Regions from separate parts of the Homo sapiens genome. Here region 1 is linked to region 2. Evidence: promoter capture Hi-C in 16 types of primary human blood cells and fetal thymus (Javierre and others, 2016). All regions are on one chromosome and are shown on one strand. The core of a region is centred on a gene start or on the middle of the fragment in contact, and the rest is flanking DNA. Distances in the headings are between cores, read along the strand shown.

Evidence for each region. Contacts are between HindIII fragments. The CHiCAGO score rates a contact against its expected background, and 5 or more counts as called.
Region 1: a fragment that was not itself captured here is called in contact with the fragment with the promoter of TMIGD1 in region 2 in 1 of 17 cell types (M2 macrophages); the score reaches 9.7 in M2 macrophages.

The regions. Positions count from the first base shown.
Region 1 is chr17:30,029,165-30,034,532 of GRCh38, reverse strand. EFCAB5 (EF-hand calcium binding domain 5) reads right to left here. Exons shown (of 23, transcript NM_198529.4): 8 at 148-303. Among named protein-coding and RNA genes, the nearest start is that of NSRP1, 85 kb to the left of the region's middle. The HindIII fragment of the contact is 5,412 bases long and covers 1-5,165 here.
Region 2 is chr17:30,330,991-30,337,124 of GRCh38, reverse strand. It overlaps TMIGD1 (transmembrane and immunoglobulin domain containing 1), which reads left to right and starts at 3,068. Exons shown (of 7, transcript NM_206832.3): 1 at 3,068-3,125; 2 at 4,967-5,073. The coding sequence starts at 4,992. The HindIII fragment of the contact is 5,890 bases long and covers 2,843-6,134 here.

The DNA.
Region 1 (5,368 bases), core at 1,210-3,709, 300 kb after region 2:
GATATGGGGTTTCACCATGTTGTCCAGGCTGGTCTCAAACTCCTGGGCTCAAGTAATCCACCAGCCTCAGCCTCCTAAAGTGCTGGGATTACAGGCGTGAGCCACAGTGTCTGGCCAAGAAGCAATTATTTAAATGTCTTAACCCACCTTCCCGTGGTCACAATGTAGGAAGAGTTCAGCGAACATCTGCCTCCGCATGTCAGCTTTTATGACCTCCCGAAATTCATCTGCAGAGTGGCAAAGGTGCTTAAGAAGTTCCTCAAACATTTCACTCTTCAAGTCTTTAATATGTGAAGAGATGTACTACAGGGGAAAAAAAAGAGGATAAACGATTGACTTAAAACCATGCTCTACTTGGATTTTCCCCAGGATTCAACCAATGTGCATGAAATACATTGGCTGTAAAATGTTTCCATATGATTTGCTTATCACTTAGATGAAGCATTTTCATGCTAGCTGCTGTAAAAGCTGTGATGCAGAGAGAGGTAACTAATGCAGTCCCCAATACCACACATCAGTGGGACTAGATATTTTTGGAGCAATTTCCCTCTATATCACATCAACATTATATAGGGCAGACTTTCCTCACAGTATGAAATAGCAGTAGTTGCCTGTAAAATGCTACCTGCAAATTAAAAGTCCTAAAAATTGAATGCAGTTTTTCTATGGTATATGGTATATAAAAGCATGTGTATTGCAAGACTGGCTGCATTTAATTACTGGAGTGTAAGCGACAAGGATCATGGGTGGCTTTTTGTTTTTTGATATTGCAATAAGATATCCTTTGTCTATGATCTTCTTTTAAAGTATAGGGACTGAAAACGTCTATACTCTTCGGCCATTTCTCTTGATCCCTGTTGAGTAGATTCCCAGAAGTGGAATTTCTAGCTTAGAGGATTAATGCACCTGAATATTTTGTAGGTTTGACATGGGGCTTGCCCACTTTTGCACTCCTATGACTAATGCATGAGTGATTATTTCTTCTCAGCCTCACCATCAGTGTATATTGGCATCTGGGTTTTTGCCAATTTGATAGGTCAGGAACGAATTACATTCTTGGTCTACACTTTAAGAGATAGAAGGTATCCTGTGATAGAGAGAAGTGATCAAGCACTGCAAGAGTTTCTGAGTGCACTCCTTTTAAAGTGTGAGCTCGGCCGGGCACGGTGGCTCACGCCTGTAATCCCAGCACTTTGGGAGGCCGAGGCGGGCGGATCACAAGGTCAGGAGATCGAGACCATCCTGGCTAACACGGTGAAACCCCATCTCTACTAAAAATACAAAAAATTAGCCGGGCGTGGTGGCGGGCGCCTGCAGTCCCAGCTACTCGGGAAGCTGAGGCAGGAGAATGGCGTGAACCCGAGAGGCGGAGCTTGCAGTGAGCCGAGATGGCGCCACTGCACTCCAGCCTGGGCGAGAGTGCGAGACTCCGTCTCAAAAAAAAAAAAAAGTGTGAGCTCAGCTCACAGCCGATGATTTCCTCCCCTGCCTCACGCACAGAGGTAGCCAAAGTTACACTGCATGATCCCACTTCCATAGCCATAAATGATTGAACCAGGGGGAACACTTAAGGCCATTCAGATTCTCTCCACTAGGAATTGGGGATTAGAACTGAGTAACAGCCAGTTAATCTGAGTGGGCCTGAATTTGTGAATGTGTAGTCGAGGCAAAATTTTACCTCTACTCTCTTAGGGTCTTTGGCTGGGCCTGAGAATTAAATTGACATAAGATAGGTTAGCAGGAGAAAGGAATAAAGATTTAATATAAATTTTATGTGACATAGGAGCTGTCATAAAGAAATGAAGATCCAAAGAAATGGCAAAAACTACATGCTTTTATTAATATATTGAGTTGAACAAAGAGAGGCAATTGTGGAAAAGTAACTAAATTATGTTGGGAAACTAAAAGGAAGATAATAATTATTTTAACAAGGTCTGTTTGTACAGAATTCTCTCAGCTAAGACTCCCAGTTGAATAATGTTTCCTTTCTCCTGATACAGGGAGGACATCTTTTACATGGGAGATTTTAACTTCCTATTCTCCAGAAGAAAAAGAGATTAGAATGCCCTTCTTGTATCTATTTTTCAAGTGCCTTTAGCTGAAAGTAATCCTTATGCCAAAGTGGAATGTTTCGGGGTAGCATATTTTGCCACCCTTCAAATGTAAATTTAAGAGTTTTGGGGTGGCCAGATTCCTCCATGTGAACTGAGACTGCCGGGAAAGTCTGTTATGGAGAGAAACAGATGAAATGCAAAGCAGAGAGAAACAGTCTTAACACTTTCCAAGTCCTTGTTCTAGTCTCTTCCTGAAGCCCTTGGATTGTGCACATTTCATATTCAGTTGTACATATTCAGCTCAGGTTGGTTTCTGGTTCTTGTAATTAGCATGTATTTAACATGGTTTGTAAAAATCATGTTCCACTTTAGTAATTTGTTTAAAATGGAACATGTTTTTGGCATATTTCATTGACATATAATTTTTATTTTTATTTTTTTAGAGACAGGGTCTCACTCTGTTGCCCAAGCTGGAGTGCAATGGTGCAGTGGCACAATCATGGCTCACTGCAGCCTTGGTCACAAGACTCAAGTGATCCTCCTACCTCAGCCTCCTGAGTTGCTGGGACTACAGGTACGAGCCACCACACCTGGCTAATTAAAAAAAAAAATGTGTGTGTGTAGAGATAGGGTCTCACTATGTTGCCCAAACTGGTCTCAAACTCCTGGGCTCAGGTCATCTTCCTGCTTCAGCCTCTCAAAGTACTGAAATTACAGGCATGAGCCACTGTACCCAGCATCATTATCATTATTCTTGATGGATCAATGCACACAGTTAAGTTCTTAGCTGTTACCATGGGAACAAGCAGAGTAGTGGAAGTGGTTAAGAACTCACTCTGAAGCCTGTCTGGGCTCAACTCCCTGTTCTCATATCCGTTCATTTGTGAAATGGGTATCACAGTAGTAGTTACCTCACTGAGTTATGGTATGTACGATCTGGGTGTTTCACGTAGTAAGTTCTCTTCAGCCATTGTGTTTGTCTACTCTTGAGGTAGGTAACAAATTGGCCAAGAACATCTTCTTCATTAAATAAACAGTCCTCTTAGCTGATAAACAACTTTAGAAGGAGAAAACCCAACAAGATCAGCGGTTCTCAAAGTGTGATCCCTAGACCAACAGCATCAGCATCATCTGAGAACTTGTCAGAACTGCAAATTTTTAGGCCCCACCCCATATTTACTGAATCAGAAATTCTGGGAGTAGGGCCCAATAATCTATAGTTTAACAAGCCTCCCTGGTGATTCTGATGCTTGTTAAAGTTTGAGAACCACTGAACTACATGATCTGGGGTATCTGGTCCTGATTAGTCCCGTATCCTAAGATCCTGTTGTTTGATCCTTAATGACTTTTTACTTGACTAGTAGGTATTTTTCTATATTACTCATAAGTCAGAATTATTGAATAATTGACCTTTTCTGGCAACAATGTAGCTCAATCCTCTAATGCTGAAAAAAAAATTGGTATTTGGAAGAACACCAATTTTAAATTAAGTGTTTGGGAATTGACTTCAAAGCCATATGAGCTTTCTGGCTGTGGGAATGCTATTGAATCAATAATTAGTTTTAAAAGGTTTAGGCAGGAGGATCACTTGAGGCCAAGAGCTTGAGGCCAGCCTGAGCAACATAGGAAGACCTCATCTCTACAAAAGATTTAAAAATTTAGCCAAGAGTGGTGGTGCACGCTTGTAGTCCCACTCAGGAGGCTGAGGTGGGAGGATCACTTGAACCCAGTAGTTCAAGGTTTCAGTGAGCTATGATCACATCACTCCAGCCCAGGCAACAGAGCGGGACCCTGTTTCAAAAAAAAAAAAAAGAATTAGTTAAAAAACCTTTCTCTGGGCTGGGCGCAGTGGCTTACGCCTGTAATCCCAGCACTTGGGAGGCCGAGGTGGGCGGATCACCTGAAGTCAGGAGTTCAAGACCATCCTGGCCAACATGGTGAAACCTCATCTCTACTAAAAATAAAAAATTAGCCAGGCATAATGGTGGGTGCCTGTAATCCCAGCTACTTAGGAGGCTGAGGCAGGAGAATTGCTTGAACCCGGGAGGCAGAGGTTGCAATGAGCCGAGATTGCACCATCTCACTCCAGCCTGGGCAACAGAGCGAGCGAGACTCCGTCTCAAAACAAACAAACAAACAAACAAACCTTTTTCTGAGAGACACTTCTGGATTTTTCATCCCTGAAAGTTCTGATGGAAAAAAAAAATATTCTGGAGCTATAGTCTGTCGGTTTTCTGAGTTAGCATATTCTGATTGTTCTGTAAGTTTAGGCTAGCTGGCATAAAGACTAACAGTTGGCGATATCAACTACAAATCAAATTCCAGATAATTACAGAAGTTTGCCAATGTCTCTTGTAAAAACAGAAAAAGGTGAAAATCGATGGGAGCCTTTGTGTTTTCATACCTTTCCAAGGAAAGATTGCTTAATTTAAGAATATAATTACCAATACCTTTCAGTTAATATCTCTGTGAGATGTTAAACATTTGAACTGTACTTAGTCAAGTTATCTCTATGTGCTAAGTCCCAATGTAATGAATTCTGGGATTTTCCTTTCTGACTTAATGCTGAGAATGTGGTAAATATCACATTTAATAGCTATTATAAGATTCTATAGCTCTGGGCCAGTGGGATTCATACTTATTTAATTGTAGACATACTGAAGAGTTGATGAAGTGGGTGATATAAGAGCAATAGAAAGAAAACTATGTTTGGAAACTATCTATCTTAGGTATTAACTTCCAAACGGTATTTGTAAGCCCTGGTAGTATACGAGGAGTGCAAACAAGGAGTACAGAATATTGAAGTACTCAGGTTATATTTGTTATCTATCACTGAAGAAATGGTGTGTTCCTATAGCCTGTGGGCAGAAAATTAGCTTTCCAGTTTTAGGGAGGAAACTTTAAAAAAAAAAAAAAAGATTAGTGCTAATTATATACAGACAGCCCCTGACTTATGATGGTTCAATTTAACAATTTTTCCACTTTATGATGACACAAAAGTGATATGCATTCAGTACTTTGAAGTACCTATACAACAATTCTGTTTTTCACTTTCAGTATAATATTTAATAAATTACATGAGCTACTCAACACCTCATTATAAAATAAGCTTTTTGTTAGATGATTTTGCGACTGTAGGCTAATATAAGTGTTCTGAGCACATTTAAGATGGGCTAGGCTAAACTGTGATGTTCAGTAGGTTAGATGAATTAAATGCATTTTTTACTTAGATATTTTCAACGTACAATGAATTTACCAGGATGTAATCCCATCATAAGTCAAAGAGCATCTGTACTTAACAAAGTAGTAACATA
Region 2 (6,134 bases), core at 1,819-4,318:
TCAGCTTTCAAAGTGTTGAGATTAGAGGCATGAGCCACTGCACCCTGCCAGATTGGTCTTTATTCCCAGGAATGTTCAGACTCGAGGGTGCTTTTTCCTCTTTCCCTCTTGGTCTAAGCCACTGTGGAAGCTGTGGAGTATTGGACTCTGTAAATACTCCAAACAGCCAAACTACTTAGGCTTAATGGTTAACTACTGGGCTTAACTACTTACAGAAAAATGATTTCTCCCCTCTGTCAGTTCTAGGAAAGAGGACTGTTCCAGGGATTTATATGACCTTGCACGAGTCATATGACAAAATTCTTTGACTCTCCAGCAGGGGCGCCATTATACCATTTTTCTTATCTGAAGTCCCTGCTCAGCACCTGAGGCCACTCTGCATGGCTCCTGATCATCATTAACGTTCTGCTCTACGATGTAAGACCTTCAAAAGCGCAGAGCTTGTTTTATTCATCTATGTATCACCACTTAATGTTATGGAAGCATTAAGTGGTGGAAGCATTAAGCTGGAAGCATCATTCATCTTATAGACATCATAGCTTTGTAGAGTTATTATAACAATTTTCCACAGATGGCAGTAGAGTGACTAGAGAAGCCATATTTTCCCTAATTCATGACAAAGCCACCATATTGGCTTGGCTGCAACTGGCATCCTCAATACTTAGAATACTTAGCACATGGTAGATACTCAATAAATATCTGCTGAATACATTTCCCCAACATTCTGATGACAAAAATGTCATACAGAAAAGTTGAAACAATAGTACAATGAAGATCTATAGACCCCTATTTAGTTGAATAAATGTTAACATTTGCTATATTTGCTGTGTGTTTATGTGTTTACTTTTCTTGCTGAATCATTTGAAAGGTAGTTGCAATTATCATGACACTTGACCCATAAATATTTCAGCAGGCATCCCTTGAGAATTAGAACATTCTCTACATAACTGCAATACCATGATCACAACTAATAATAATTAATCATTATTTCCTAATATCACCTAATATCCAATTGTAGAAGTTGCTGGTGGTGCTCTACTCACACATCCTTGGCCTACCCAGAAGTTACCTGCAAAGAGTTCCCATATAGCCAGTGACTTCCTGAGCATCTTTTCCTGGACATGTTGGCCAGCTTGAGAGAGTACACTTTGCCCTCACAGGGCAGGCTGAAAGTGCCAGAGAGTCAACACCTTGAGAGTGTCCCTCAGCCGGAGATGGAGAGAAGTTGCTTCCTTCCCTATCAGTAGTTGATTCTGAGGTATGCTGCACAGAATACAACTTGTCCAAAGCTCCAGGGATATAGTTGCTCACGGTAGTAATCTTTAACACATTCTTTACTAGTTTCCTCCCTTCCCTATCTTACTTCCTTACTATGCTTCCTGAGATCACTTTTTTTTTTTTTTTTTTTTGAGGAAGGGTCTCACTCTCTCGCCCAGATTGGAATGCAGTGGTCCAATCTTGGCTCAACACAACCTCCACCTCCCAGCCTCAAGGGATTCTTCCACCTCAGCCTCCCAAGTAGCTGGGATTACAGGCGCCCGCCACCATGCCTGGCTAATTTTTCTATTTTTAGTAGAGACGGGGTTTCATCACATTGGCCAGGCTGGTCTCGAACTCCTGACCTCAAATGATCCACCCTCCTCGGCCTCCCAAAGTGCTGGGATTAAGGGAGTGAGCCACTCACCGTGCCCGGCCGAGATCACCTTTAAATAAACTATTGGCACTCAAAGCTCTGTCTCAGGGTCTATTTTGGAGGCACCAAGAACCAAAACATCACTCCATTGCTAAATTCATTTTAAAATGACAATCTTGGATCCCTGGAGAGGCAAACTCAAAACCTGTTTGGGTGGTGCTTGCAACCCAGCCAACAGGAGCTGCTCTTAGCTCTGATTTTTGCTTGAACAATGCTATAGTGAGGTTGTGTTGATTTAGGATGCCCTGCTCAGCCTATATTAATAATAATAGTAATAAGAGCTACTGTTTACCAAGAGCTTACTGTGCGGCAGATTCACATGCTTCATTTCATTTAATCCTCACAGTGACTCCGTAGGGAGGGTACTATTACTATTTCCATTGTATTGATGAAGATCCTGAGGCTCATGGAGGTTAAATAACTTTTCAAAGTTACATAGCTAGTAAGAGGCAGATTGCTGGTGTGCTTCAGCAGTGTGTTAAAATGTGTAGATAACTATAAATATTCTTCTGTTATATTTTTGTGTAAATGGGAACAATAGTACTTGGCAGATAAAATTTGCATCGTTAACAATACCATAAACATAGTGTAATGCAAGGATCTCCCAATCAGGTGAGAGCCTCAAGAGGATAAAACTGTTCCCTAGGCCAAGGTGGGCAGATTGCTTAAGGCCGGGAGTTAGAGACCAGCCTAGGAAACATGGCGAAATTTCATCTCTACCAAAAATATATATATTAACAAAGTTTAGCTGGGCATGGTGACTCACGCCAGTAGTCCTAGCTCCTTGGGAGGCTGGGAGCAGAGGTTCAGTCAGCCACAATTGTGCCATTGCATTCCAATCTGGGTGACAGAGTGAAACCCTGCCTCAAAAAACAAAACAAACAACAACAACAAAAAAACGGCTCCCTGCCATGCCTGGCTTGGTACAGCTTATGCACTGGGCTTGGGTTACTAGTGGTAACTAAGACTTTTCCAGCATTATTTAAGTTGTGTAGAATCTTCCAATGTTTTGACCTCTGTTAAAGTCAAACTTCTCTTTGGACTCGTCCCTTCACAATCCCCAGGCTAGATGATCAAAACGCAGCCATCTTACTTAAATATGACAATATTCAGTGAGATGCGCTACAGATTTTTGCACAAGTTCAAGCTTTCTTGGAACAACACATCCCTGTTAGTAATATCCGGCCCCACCTAGTAACCGAGGTAGACATAGAAACTTAGATCTTAAGAAGATGTCTTTCCCAATTACTATCTTCTCTAAGACTCCATAAAGAAAAACAGACTTTGAACCCAAGTTATCTTATTTATTTGACCCTGCTGTCATAAAGCGTTCAAATTCAAGTATTATAAAGGATTGTAACAGGGAAAGCATTTAGGGTTTTCAGGCAGAGGAACAGTTGGCCAAGGAAGTCAGCTTCTCAGAGCTCAAGAGGTAAGTGGTAAGACTGTCTTATATAGAAAGTAGAGAGTCATACAGATTAAAAACAAGCCAAGTGAGGGGAATACATTTTGAAAAGTTGCTGTCTCGGTGGAGTGGAGGGAAAGAGAAGACATAGATTTGTCCCCTTAATAGGGCTGGGTGAGGTCTGGCAAGAAGCCTGCACTCTCAGTTTTTATTGAGTACTTGTAGTGCAGAGCGCTTGAGAAAACTCTACTATTGACCACATTCTGCAGTAATCACTGTTACAACACTGTGATAGAAATCTTTTTGGCAAATATTTAAAATTACAAAAGAATCAATATTAGTAGTAATTGCATCTTACGAAAAGATTGATGCAGGCTTGTCTGCCAGAAAGGGTGAGCCTGGCATGAATGAAACTTACTCCTGTCAGGGCACGCCTGGGACAGGGGAGGAGTAGAGTAGGTATAGGTATATTTCAGCTCTTGTAAATTAATACTGGTGTTAAGGGGAGAGAACTCCCAGTGGCCAGGGACTGGAAAAGATTAACAGCAGCTTTTTTTTATTTTTTTATTTTTTATTTTTATTTTTTGAGACCGAGCCTCACTCTGTCGCCCAGGCTGGAGTGCAGTGGCATAATCTTGGCTCACTGCAACCTCCACCTCCCAGGTTCAAGCAATTCTCCTGCCTCAGCCTCCCGAGTAGCTGGGATTACAGGCGCTCGCCACCATGCCTGGCTAATTTTTTTTTTTTTTTTTTGCATTTTTAGTAGAGATGGGGTTTCACTATGTTGGTCAGGCTAGTCTCAAACTCCTGACCTCAGGTAATCCACCTGCCTCAGCTCCTAAAGTGCTGGGATTACAGGCATGAGCCACTGCACCCAGCCTAACAGCAGCTTCTTAAAGGAAAAGAATATTAATCTAGGCAGTAGATTGGGTAGTAGGGTGGTTGAGAGTAGGGTGGTTAAGAGCATGGTCTTGGGAGTCTGGGTTCAAATCCCGACCTTGACATTTACTGTCTGTGGGATCTCAGGCAAATTACATAGTCTCTTTAAATCTATAGAAACGACCTCAGGAGGGTTGTTAGGAGGCTTAATTGTGACTGAAATGATGTATGTAAAGTGTTTAGCACAGTCCCTGTTGCGCAGAAAGTTTTCCGTATGTGGTTCGCTATATTTATAGTAGTACTCTTGAAAGGAAGTAATGAATATATGTTTTTTTCCCAGATGGAAATGGAGAATATCTTAGGGAGAGGGAGAGTTGAAGCAAAAGCAAGAAGGGAGAAAGGACACCTTTATTATTTATTATTTTTAGTCCATTGGGTCAAGGGGAAGAGAGAGAGAGAATAGTGGGAGAAAGACAAGATTAACATGGTTTAAACTAGAGGCCATGTTTCAATTGAGGCTTTTCTACGTACACACCATTTGAATCTATGGGATTTGGAGTAGTCTCAAAAACTCTCTATTATCAGAGAACATCTTTACAAAAATGACCCAAGAAAAACTTTCAGAACAAGAATTACTTTGTTCAGTAGGGACTGTCTGAGAATGAGACAAGTTTCATTCTGCTAAAATGAAATTCTATCAGTTTCTCTAGGGAAGACTGGTTTCATCTTCCCCAGGGCACCCTGACGCTGCTCTATCTGTCATAGCCTATTTCCTGTGGTTTTATGTTGCTTTTAAAAAAAATTTCTTACTACTAAATGTACTTTGAACTTAGTCAGACAGGGTTGTTTAATTAAAAGCTAGAAGTAGTACCGTTATAGCTGGGATGATTCATCTGGGACTTCACTTTAAATGCATAATAGACAGAAGGAAGGTTCACGAACTCATTGCAGACCAAAGTACAAAACCAACTGCACTATTTTTCCCTTAGTAGATCTGAGTTTAACTCATTAAAGATGGCATGGAAGAGCAGTGTCATAATGCAAATGGGAAGATTTCTTCTCTTAGTAATTTTATTTCTGCCACGTGAGATGACAAGTAAGTTAAAGTTCTTTTTGGCCTCTTTTTAGATAAAGAAAAATTTCCGATTAAGAAAAGTGATCAATGGGCATTGGATATATCCTTAAATTCCAAATTGGAATGACTACACAGTTAGCATGGCTCACAGTACAGGAGTCAACTAACAATAAAAAATCAAATGGAGGCCAGGCGGGTGGCTCACGCCTGTAATCCCAACACTTTGGGAGGCCGAGGCAGGTGAATCATGAGGTCAGGAGATCGAGACCATCCTGGCTAACACGGTGAAACCCCATCTCTACTAAAAATACAAAAAATTAGCCTGGTGTGCTGGCAGGCGCCTGTAGTTCCAGCTACTCGGGTGGCTGAGGCAGGAGAATGGCGTGAACCCAGGAGGTGGAGCTTGCAGTGAGTGAGCCGAGATTACGTCACTGTACTCCAGCCTGGGCGACAGGGCGAGACTCCGTCTCAAAAAAAAAAAAAAAAAAATCAAATGGAAAAATATTGTTTTTAGGGTTTTATTATTACAAGACAAGGTGAAGTATTCTATTCTCTCCAGAGCCACCACCAGAATCCTCCTACATTTTAATGCATTTTATTACTAATGTTACCCCAAATAATCATCTGTTTATCTGAACATACCATTTCACATGAAAATCTTTCCAGCATTTGCTCTCCTACCACTCTTTTCTGATTTTAAAAGTAATGCATAGTCATTGTAAAATAAATCAGGCAATCTATAAAAAAAAAAAGAAAAGTACAAATCCCCCCAAATACTTTCATCCAGAGATGACAACCACTCAATATTCCATATTTTAATAAAATACTAGACAACAATACCATTATCTTTACAAGTAGCTTAAGTTTTTTGCTTTTTTGAGAAGAAGTCTCACTTTGTTGCCCAGGCTGGAGTGCAGTGGTGTGATCTTGGCTCACTGCAACCTTCATCTCCCAGGTTCAAGTGATTCTCCTGCCTCAGCCTCCCGAGTAGCTGGGATTACAGGAGCCCGCCACCATGCCTGGCTAATTTTTTTGTATTTTTAGTAGAGACAGGGTTTCACTATGTTGGCCAGGCTGGTCTC